Linked DNA regions of Homo sapiens: region 2 is linked to region 1. Evidence: promoter capture Hi-C in human tissues and cell types (Jung and others, 2019). All regions are on one chromosome and are shown on one strand. The core of a region is centred on a gene start or on the middle of the fragment in contact, and the rest is flanking DNA. Distances in the headings are between cores, read along the strand shown. Region 1 holds the start of UFSP1 (UFM1 specific peptidase 1). Region 2 has its middle 4.5 kb from the start of EPHB4.

What was found. Contacts are between HindIII fragments. The study calls those that stand out against the background at their distance.
Region 2: a contact is called between a fragment that was not itself captured here and the fragment with the promoter of UFSP1 in region 1, in 1 of the 25 tissues and cell types used here (pancreas).

Annotation. Positions count from the first base shown.
Region 1 is chr7:100,887,140-100,891,027 of GRCh38, forward strand. It overlaps UFSP1 (UFM1 specific peptidase 1), which reads right to left and starts at 2,576. Exons shown (of 1, transcript NM_001430944.2): 1 at 1,582-2,576. The coding sequence starts at 2,360. The coding sequence ends at 1,704. SRRT (serrate, RNA effector molecule) reads left to right here. Exons shown (of 20, transcript NM_015908.6): 15 at 1-61; 16 at 181-374; 17 at 564-720; 18 at 903-1,004; 19 at 1,118-1,244; 20 at 1,335-1,525. The coding sequence ends at 1,410. ACHE (acetylcholinesterase (Yt blood group)) reads right to left here. Exons shown (of 5, transcript NM_000665.5): 5 at 2,855-3,196. The coding sequence ends at 3,075. RefSeq lists silencers at 2,600-2,649, 3,741-3,888 and enhancers at 3,069-3,802, 3,520-3,579, 3,803-3,888. The HindIII fragment of the contact is 19,297 bases long and covers 1-3,888 here.
Region 2 is chr7:100,829,915-100,834,088 of GRCh38, forward strand. It overlaps a transcript of SLC12A9 not described here. Among named protein-coding and RNA genes, the nearest start is that of EPHB4, 4.5 kb to the left of the region's middle. The HindIII fragment of the contact is 4,124 bases long and covers 35-4,158 here.

The DNA of each region.
Region 1 (3,888 bases), core at 1,326-3,825:
CGCTGTGGGATCATCCACGTTCGGGGGCCCATGCCACCCAACCGCATCAGTCACGGGGAAGGTGAGCTCCAGGTTCCCCTTTGTTCCCGGCTGCCCCTGGCCTTGGTCCTCCAGCCCCTTGCCACCATCCTTCCTTCTGGCTCCCTTGCCAACCTTCCTTCCTCTGTTCCCAAACCACAGTGCTGGAGTGGCAGAAGACTTTTGAGGAGAAGCTCACGCCGTTGCTGAGTGTGCGGGAGTCACTCTCAGAGGAAGAGGCCCAGAAGATGGGGCGCAAAGACCCAGAGCAGGAAGTGGAGAAGTTCGTCACCTCCAACACGCAGGAACTGGGCAAGGATAAGTGGCTGTGTCCTCTCAGTGGCAAGAAATTCAAGGTGTGGGATGTTGGAGAATGGCCGTGCTACGGTGGTGGGAGGTGGGGTTGAGACAGGAAGCCCCCTGGGCAGGGGTGGGGGAACTGCTTACTGCACTGGCAGGCGGGAGCTGGGAATCCTTCCAGCTCGGGCCTGGGAGCGAGGCAACCCTTATGTGGCTGTCCTGACCCCTCTCCTCTCTCCACCCAGGGTCCTGAGTTTGTGCGCAAACATATCTTCAACAAGCATGCAGAGAAAATTGAGGAAGTGAAAAAGGAAGTCGCGTTTTTTAACAACTTCCTCACTGATGCTAAGCGCCCAGCTCTGCCTGAGATCAAGCCAGCCCAGCCACCTGGCCCCGCCCAGAGTAAGATACGATCCATGAAGGTCGCATGTGCCCTCTTCCTTGACTACCCAGGGACTCCTGTTTCTCTTTAACGTGTCACCCCGAGAAGTTTCTGCCCCATCCTCAGGCCATAGCCCTAGAAGTCAATTGTACCCGTATCCCCCTCCCCGCCCCCGCAGTAATTCATGTCCCTGTCCGTGTTGTACTCCCCCCAGGTTTGACCCCAGGACTCCCCTACCCACACCAGACTCCCCAGGGCCTGATGCCCTATGGTCAGCCCCGGCCCCCGATCTTGGGCTATGGAGGTAAGTACAGGAGGGAGATGAAGGGGCTTGGTGAGTGTGTGGCTTTGGGAGAAGAAAACAGAGGATGGAATTGAGGACATAGTTTTGCAACTCAACACTGATCTCTGTCATAGCTGGTGCTGTCCGCCCTGCAGTCCCCACAGGAGGCCCTCCATACCCCCATGCCCCGTATGGTGCTGGTCGAGGGAACTATGATGCCTTCCGAGGCCAGGGAGGTTATCCTGGGAAACCTCGCAACAGGTGAGGAGGGCAGACGCCCAAGCTTTGTTGCCGCCTGCAGACTCCCTTTTGGGAGCCCTCAGCTCTCATCCTGTACCTCTCACCTCACAGGATGGTTCGTGGAGACCCAAGGGCCATTGTGGAATATCGGGACCTGGATGCCCCAGACGATGTTGATTTCTTTTGAGCCGTCCCCCGTTCCTCAGTCCTGTATCATCCATACTTGTACTACCTTGTCCTATGAAGCTCTGAGAATTTTTTGTACGATCAGCCTTACTGCTAATAAAAGCACTTCCACAGGGCTCCTGACTCTCGTGTGTTACATAACTCCTCCATCCTTCCAGAGTAACTCCTGAGGTGTTGCTCAGCCCTGCCACTTTTATTATTGATGTCAAAAGCGCCAGGCTTTGCAGGGACACCAGTGGGAGGTACATAGGTGCGTGTCTGGGACCCGAGAATCTCAGTTCTGTAACTTCGTCCTCAGTCCAAGGTGCGCTGCTGCTGTTGGGAGCTAAGGCTGGTCAAGCACAGGTTGTAGAAGGAGTTGGGGTCAAAGGCTGCACTCACCTCTTGCCAGCCCACCCACCCAGCAGCCTGTAGTTCACTGGGGCTTTTTGGAGTGCCCCAGTAGTGAGGGTCCAATACCAGGACATAGGCTTCCGTGCCTGACCCTACGCAGACTCCCAGCAAGGCCTTGGACCTGGCATCTGCGTCCCCCCCAACCATGACTGGGCCCCCACCCCCTGCGAAGTGCGAGTAAAGCCTCTCCAGCTCCCCGTGCAGCCCCACTCCCCGGGGTACGTGGCAGAGGCGTCCCTGGGGCCCTCCGAAGTGAGCGAGGCAGAGGCTGGCCTCCACGCAGCCGATCCAGTCCCGGGAGCCCCGGAAGCCGGGGGGCTTGTCGCCCATGTCCTCCAGGGCCGCCTGTACGGCGGCCAGTCCAGGTACGCCCGCGGGCTGGCCCTCTGGCCACGAGCACAGCGTCTGCAGAGTGCGGTAGCCGCAGCCCCAGCCGCGGTCGTCCAGGCCGTCGCAGCCGTAGTGGTAGTAGAGGTAGTGGCCCGAGAGCAGCGCCAGGCGGACAGGGCCGCGGCTCGGCGGGGACAGGCCCACGTGGACGTCCCTCAGCGGCTCCAGGGCGGTGGGCGGGAGCGGAGGTCCCAGGCCAGGCACAGCGTCCTCCTAGCGGCGCGGAGCGACCTCAGGCTCCAACACTTCCTTTCGGCTCCGGGTCTTGGGCCAGCTGCCGCAGGACCGGCGCGCAGACTGGGGACGCGCTCCCCGGGCCTCGTTGATCACCGCAGGCCGCAATAGGCAGCCACCGACCGGCACCGACCGAGGAGCTCCCACAATGCTCCGCCGCGCCCCGCCCCGCCCCGCCCCTCCCCTCCCCTCCCCTCCCCTCCCCTCCCCTCTCCTCCCCTCCGCCGTGCCAGCTAGCCTGCCTGCGGGCCTCATTACGCAGGCGCGAGCTCCGCCCGGCAGGGCAGGGCTAGGGGTTGGCCTTTGCCTTGCGCCCGCCTCGGAGCTCGCCTGTTTCTTGCCCTCCAGCCCCGCTCCTGCATAGACTCGGCCCCCGTGATTCCGGCGTTCTGCCTCTACCCCTGGCTCCCTAGTCGCGCACACTCCCGTGGCTGTAACAGTTTATTGGCAGCCCAGAGGGGCGAAGGCACCGCGGGGGAGGGAGCTCAGCCTGAGACATGCAGAGGACCGGGAGCCCCGGGGGACGTCGGGGTGGGGTGGGGATGGGCAGAGTCTGGGGCTCGTCTGTGTTATAGCCCAGCCCTGAAATAAATAGTATATACAGCTAGGGGGCCGGGCGGAGCGGAGGACATGGGGGTCCCGCCGGGGTCACAGGTCTGAGCAGCGATCCTGCTTGCTGTAGTGGTCGAACTGGTTCTTCCAGTGCACCATGTAGGAGCTCCAGCGGTGGAACTCGGCCTTCCACTGGCGCTCCGCCTCGTCGAGCGTGTCTGCGGCCAGGGCGCCCAGCGAGGCGGGAGGGGAGGACGGCACGAGGAAGGTCGGGGATCGGACATTTGGGCGGGTTGAAGGGGGGGTATGAGTGCAGGGAGGACGCACGGAGAAATGCAGGCGACCACGTGGGACGGTGGCAAGAGGATCAGGAGAATGTGCGAAAGACGAGAGGGAGGATGAGGGCAGAGGCGGGGCCGGAGAAGGACAGCAGGAAGGAGAGAGGAGGAGAAAAGAATGACCGGAAGACGGGAACAGAGGGGACAGGAGGGGGAGGTTGGGGGAAAAAGAAGAGACAGAAATGGTTGACCGTTATAGCCCCAATGGGGGGTGCTACCCCGTCCGGGGCCTCCCACTTCCCCCCAATGTCAGGCTCAGGTTCCAAAAGATAATTTTATAAAAGAATACTGGCTTTTCCATTTCCATTCAAACAACAAAGGCGTGGGGGTCCCTGAGAAGGGTGGGAGGCACGGCCCCCTCCTCCTGCCCTGTCCAGTGTGAGTCTCTCGGTTTGAGGAGGAAGGGAGCACTAGGTCTGAGATCCCTGAGTGGGGCCCTTCCCCACGGTCCGACCACTCATTAGAGGAGGGGCCCCTGTGGCCGTAGGGGAAGAGGCCGTGTTCACAGCCGCCGGAGGTGGGAGAGGAAGAGGAGGAGAAGCTGGTGGAGGAGGAGGAGGGGCAGGGGGAGG
Region 2 (4,174 bases), core at 847-3,346, 58 kb before region 1:
CTACTAGGGAGGCTGAGGCACGAGAATCGCTTGAACCCGGGAGGCAGAAGTTGCAGTGAGCAGAGATTGCACCACTGCACTCCAGCCTGGGCAACAGAGCCACACTCTGTCTCCAAAAAATATATAAAGTAAATAAATAAGTAAATAAATAAATAGGCTGGGCGCAGTGGCTCACACCTGTAATCCCAGCACTTTGGGAGGCCGAGGCAGGCGGATCACCTGAGGTCAGGAGTTCGAGACCAGCCTGGCCAACATAGTGAAACCCCTTCTCTACTGAAAATACAAAACTTAGCCAGGTGTGGTGGTGCAGGCCTGCAGTCCCAGCTACTCGGGAGGCTGAGACAGGAGAATTGCTTGAACCCTGGGAGGCAGAGGTTGCAGTGAGCTGAAATCGTGCCACTGCACTCCAGCCTGGGCAACAGAGTGAAACTCTGTCTCAAAACATAAATTAATTAAACAATAGAAAACACTCATCTTAGTGGGGCACAGTGACTCATACCTGTAATGCCAGCACTTTTGGAGGCTGAGATGAGAGGATCGTTTCAGTCCAGGAGTTTGAGGGCAGCCTGAACAACATAGCGAGACCCTGTCTACAAAAAAAGAAAGAAAGAAAGAGAGAAAACATTCTATTCCATGTCAGGTCATCAGCCCACACCCCACACCAGGCAGTAATCTATTTTCTACCATCTAGTGTATGCCAGTCAAAGAATGAAAAAATGAAATCTTTACTGAGCATCTACTACGTGCCGAGTGATCACATTGCTAGTTTTCAAGATTTGTAAAACATGGTTCCTGGCCTCAAAGAGAATCTGGTAAAAATTAATATAGTTTTATGTCATCTGGTGAATTACAACCTGGTAGAAAAAAAATCCCATGATTTCCCCTTTACGTGGAGATGGCATCTGAGATTTTCACTTCAATTCTCAGGAACCACCCTTGGTCTATCCTGTGTGTGTGAAGTCATGTCCTCCACCCTTAGACCACCCAGAACCACTTCCCAGGCAAGCAAATTCAGTAGCCACTAAATTACAGAACGTGGGTGAACATTCACGTTACTACCTGAATCCATGCCTGTTCTGCAGACCAAACCAAACTCAGCCCTCCCTTCCTCATTATTAGAGCACTTTGCTGTTCCCTACCCAAAATATTAGGCTGTCACCTTTGTTCCCAGCCCAGAGCAATATACTGCTATCACACGGTGCATTGTCGGTACTTGCGCATAGCATCCACCAACAGCTACTGGAGTTTTCTTTTTCTTTTCTTTTGTATTTTATTTTATTTTATTTTTGGAGACGGCGTTTCACTCTTGTTGCCCAGGCTGGAGTGCAAAGGTGCGATCTCGGCTCACCACAACCTCTGCCTCCTGGGTTCAAGTGATTCTCCCGCCTCAGCCTCCCAGGTAGCTGGGATTACAGGCATATGCCACCACACCGGGCTAATTTTGTATTTTTAGTAGACGCGGGGTTTCTCCATGTTGGTCAGGCTGGTCTGGAACTCCTGACCTAAGGTGATCCACCTGCCTTGGCCTCCCAAAGTGCTGGGATTACAGGCGTGAGCCACTGCACGTGGCTCTTTTTTTTAGAGATAGGGTCTTACTGTATTGCCCAGGCTGGAGTGCAGTGGCACGGTCATGGCTCACTGCAGCCTTGACCTCCTGGGCTCGAGCAATCTTTCCTCAGCCTCCTGAGGAGCTGGGACCCCGCGCGGGGACCATGCCCGGCTAATAAGTTTACTTTTTCTTGTACAGATTGTGACAGTTGTTTTGAGTAATCCTGGAGTTACAGCTTTTCCTATTGTAAGAAATAACAAGCAGCAAATCACCCCTTTCTCCGTAAATTGTTGAACTTCTCATTACTCTTTCCACATCTCAGTCTCCCCTCTTCTGGGCCACCTAACTGTGTCGGGTCCAAAGTTCAGGTTTACCCCAAAGTTCATGAAGTTTAAGCTTCAGCACCTCTCACCTGCCTGGCTTCTTCCACGGCCCTGGTTAATAAGTGCCATAATTTAAACAGTTTTGAAGGTGAGTTTCAGCAGGACAACACTTGAAATGACCTGAAATCTTACAGCTCTGTTACAAAAGGAATTTGATAGAGTTTTCAACATTACCAATAGAGTTGTAAAGCTCAAATAAATTTTTATAAACAATGATGAAACCTTAAAAACTTAGCCAGGCTACTCGGGAGGCTGAGGCAGGAGAATCACTTGAACTTGGGAGGCGGAGGTTGCAGTGAGCCGAGATCGCGCCACTGCACTCCAGCCTGGCAACAGAGCGAGACTCCGTCCCACTCCCACCAAAAAAAAATAACTTAGCCAGGCACTGTGGCTCACACCTGTAATTCCAGCACTTTGGGAAGCCAAGGCAGGAGGATTGCTTGAGTCCTGGAGTTTGAGACCGGCCTGGGCAACAAAGTGAGACCCCTGTCTCTACCAGAAAATAAAAAATAAAAAATAGCTGGGCGTGGTGGCATGTGGCTATGGTCTCTCAGACACTGGGGAGGCCGAGGTGGGAGGATCACTGAGCCTGAGAGGTCTAGGCTGCAGGGAGCCGTGATGGCACCACTGCACTCCAACCTGGGCAACAGAGCGAGACCCCATCTCTAAGCAAAAATTAATCAGCCATCCTAGAGGAAAGACAGAGAAAGAATAGAAAATAATATTACAAAATCATCATATGAAGAGATGGTCAAAGAGTACACATCTAAGAAAAAGGTAGTAAATGCAAGTATTCCAGGGCTATATCAGTCTTCTTTACTATAAATGTTGTTATTTTTCTAGCTTGTATAATATTTATGATATTTGTCATATTTTAAACATTTGAGGTCAGCTGTGATTTCTTCTCTCAATCCAAAGATTTTATACCTTTTTTTTTCTTTTTTTAAGAGACAGGGTCTCCCTTTGTCACCCATGCTGGAGTGCAGTGGCACGATCGAGGCTCACTGCAGCCTCGAACTCCCAGGCTCAAGCGATCCTCCTGCCTCAGCCTCCCAAGTAGCTGAGACTACAGGCGTGTGCCACCATGCCTAGCTAATATTTTTAGTGTTTGTACAGACAGGGTCTCACTATGTTGCGCAGGCTGGTCTTGAACTCTTGAGCTCAAGTGATTGTCTAGCCTCAGCCTCCCAAAGTCCTATGATTACAGGTGTGATCCACTGCACCTGGCCTGGCTAATTTATTTTATTTTATTTTTATTTTTTGTAGACATGAGGTCTTGCTATGTTGTCCAGGCTGGTCTCAAACTCCTACCTAATTCTAGCACTGTGTGAGGCCAAAAAAAAAGTTGAAAAAAAGGCTGGGCGCAGTGGCTCACACCTGTAATCTTAGCACTTTGGGAGGCCGAGGCGGGTGGATCACCTGAGGTTGGGAGTTCAAGACCTGCCTGGCCCGTCTCTACTAAAAATAGAAAAATTAGCCAGTTACAGTGGCACACGCCTGTAATCCCAGCTACTCAGGAGGCTGAGGCACGAGAATTGCTTGAATCCAGGAGGCAGAGGTTGCAGTGAGCCAAGATTGTACCACTGCACTCCAGGCTGGGTGACAGAGCGAGACTCTGTCTCAAAGCAAAGCAAAACAAAACAAAAAGCAAAAAAACAAAACAAAACAAAAAAAAACAGACAAGGTATGGTGGCTCATGCCTGTAATCCCAGCACTTTGGGAGGCCGAGGTGGGAGGATCACTTGAGCCCAGGAGTTCCAGGCCAGCCTGGGCAACATAGTGAGACCCCAGCTCTAAAGAAAAAATAGCTGGGTGTGGTGGCTCACACCTATAATCCCAGCACTTTGGGAGGCTGAGGTGGGCGGATCACGAAGTCAGGAGATCGAGACAATCCTGGCTAACATGGTGAAACCCCATCTCTACTAAAAATACAAAAATTAGCCGGGTGTGGTGGTGGGCACCTGTAGTCCCAGCTACTTGGGAGGCTGAGGCAGGAGAATGGCGGGAACCCGGGAGGCGGAGCTTGCAGTGAACCCAGATCACGCCACTGCACTCCAGCCTCAGGTACAGAGCGAGACTCTGTCTCAAAAAAAAAAAAAAAAAAAAAAAAAAAAAGAAAGAAGGAAAAATTGAAAATGGAGGACACCAAGTCATTTTCTACCTTCCAGGATTAGACAAGTCAGGGGTAGAAACAGCCACGGGGCCTCACCAGCATCCAGGTGGCTAAGCGCACAGCCTAACT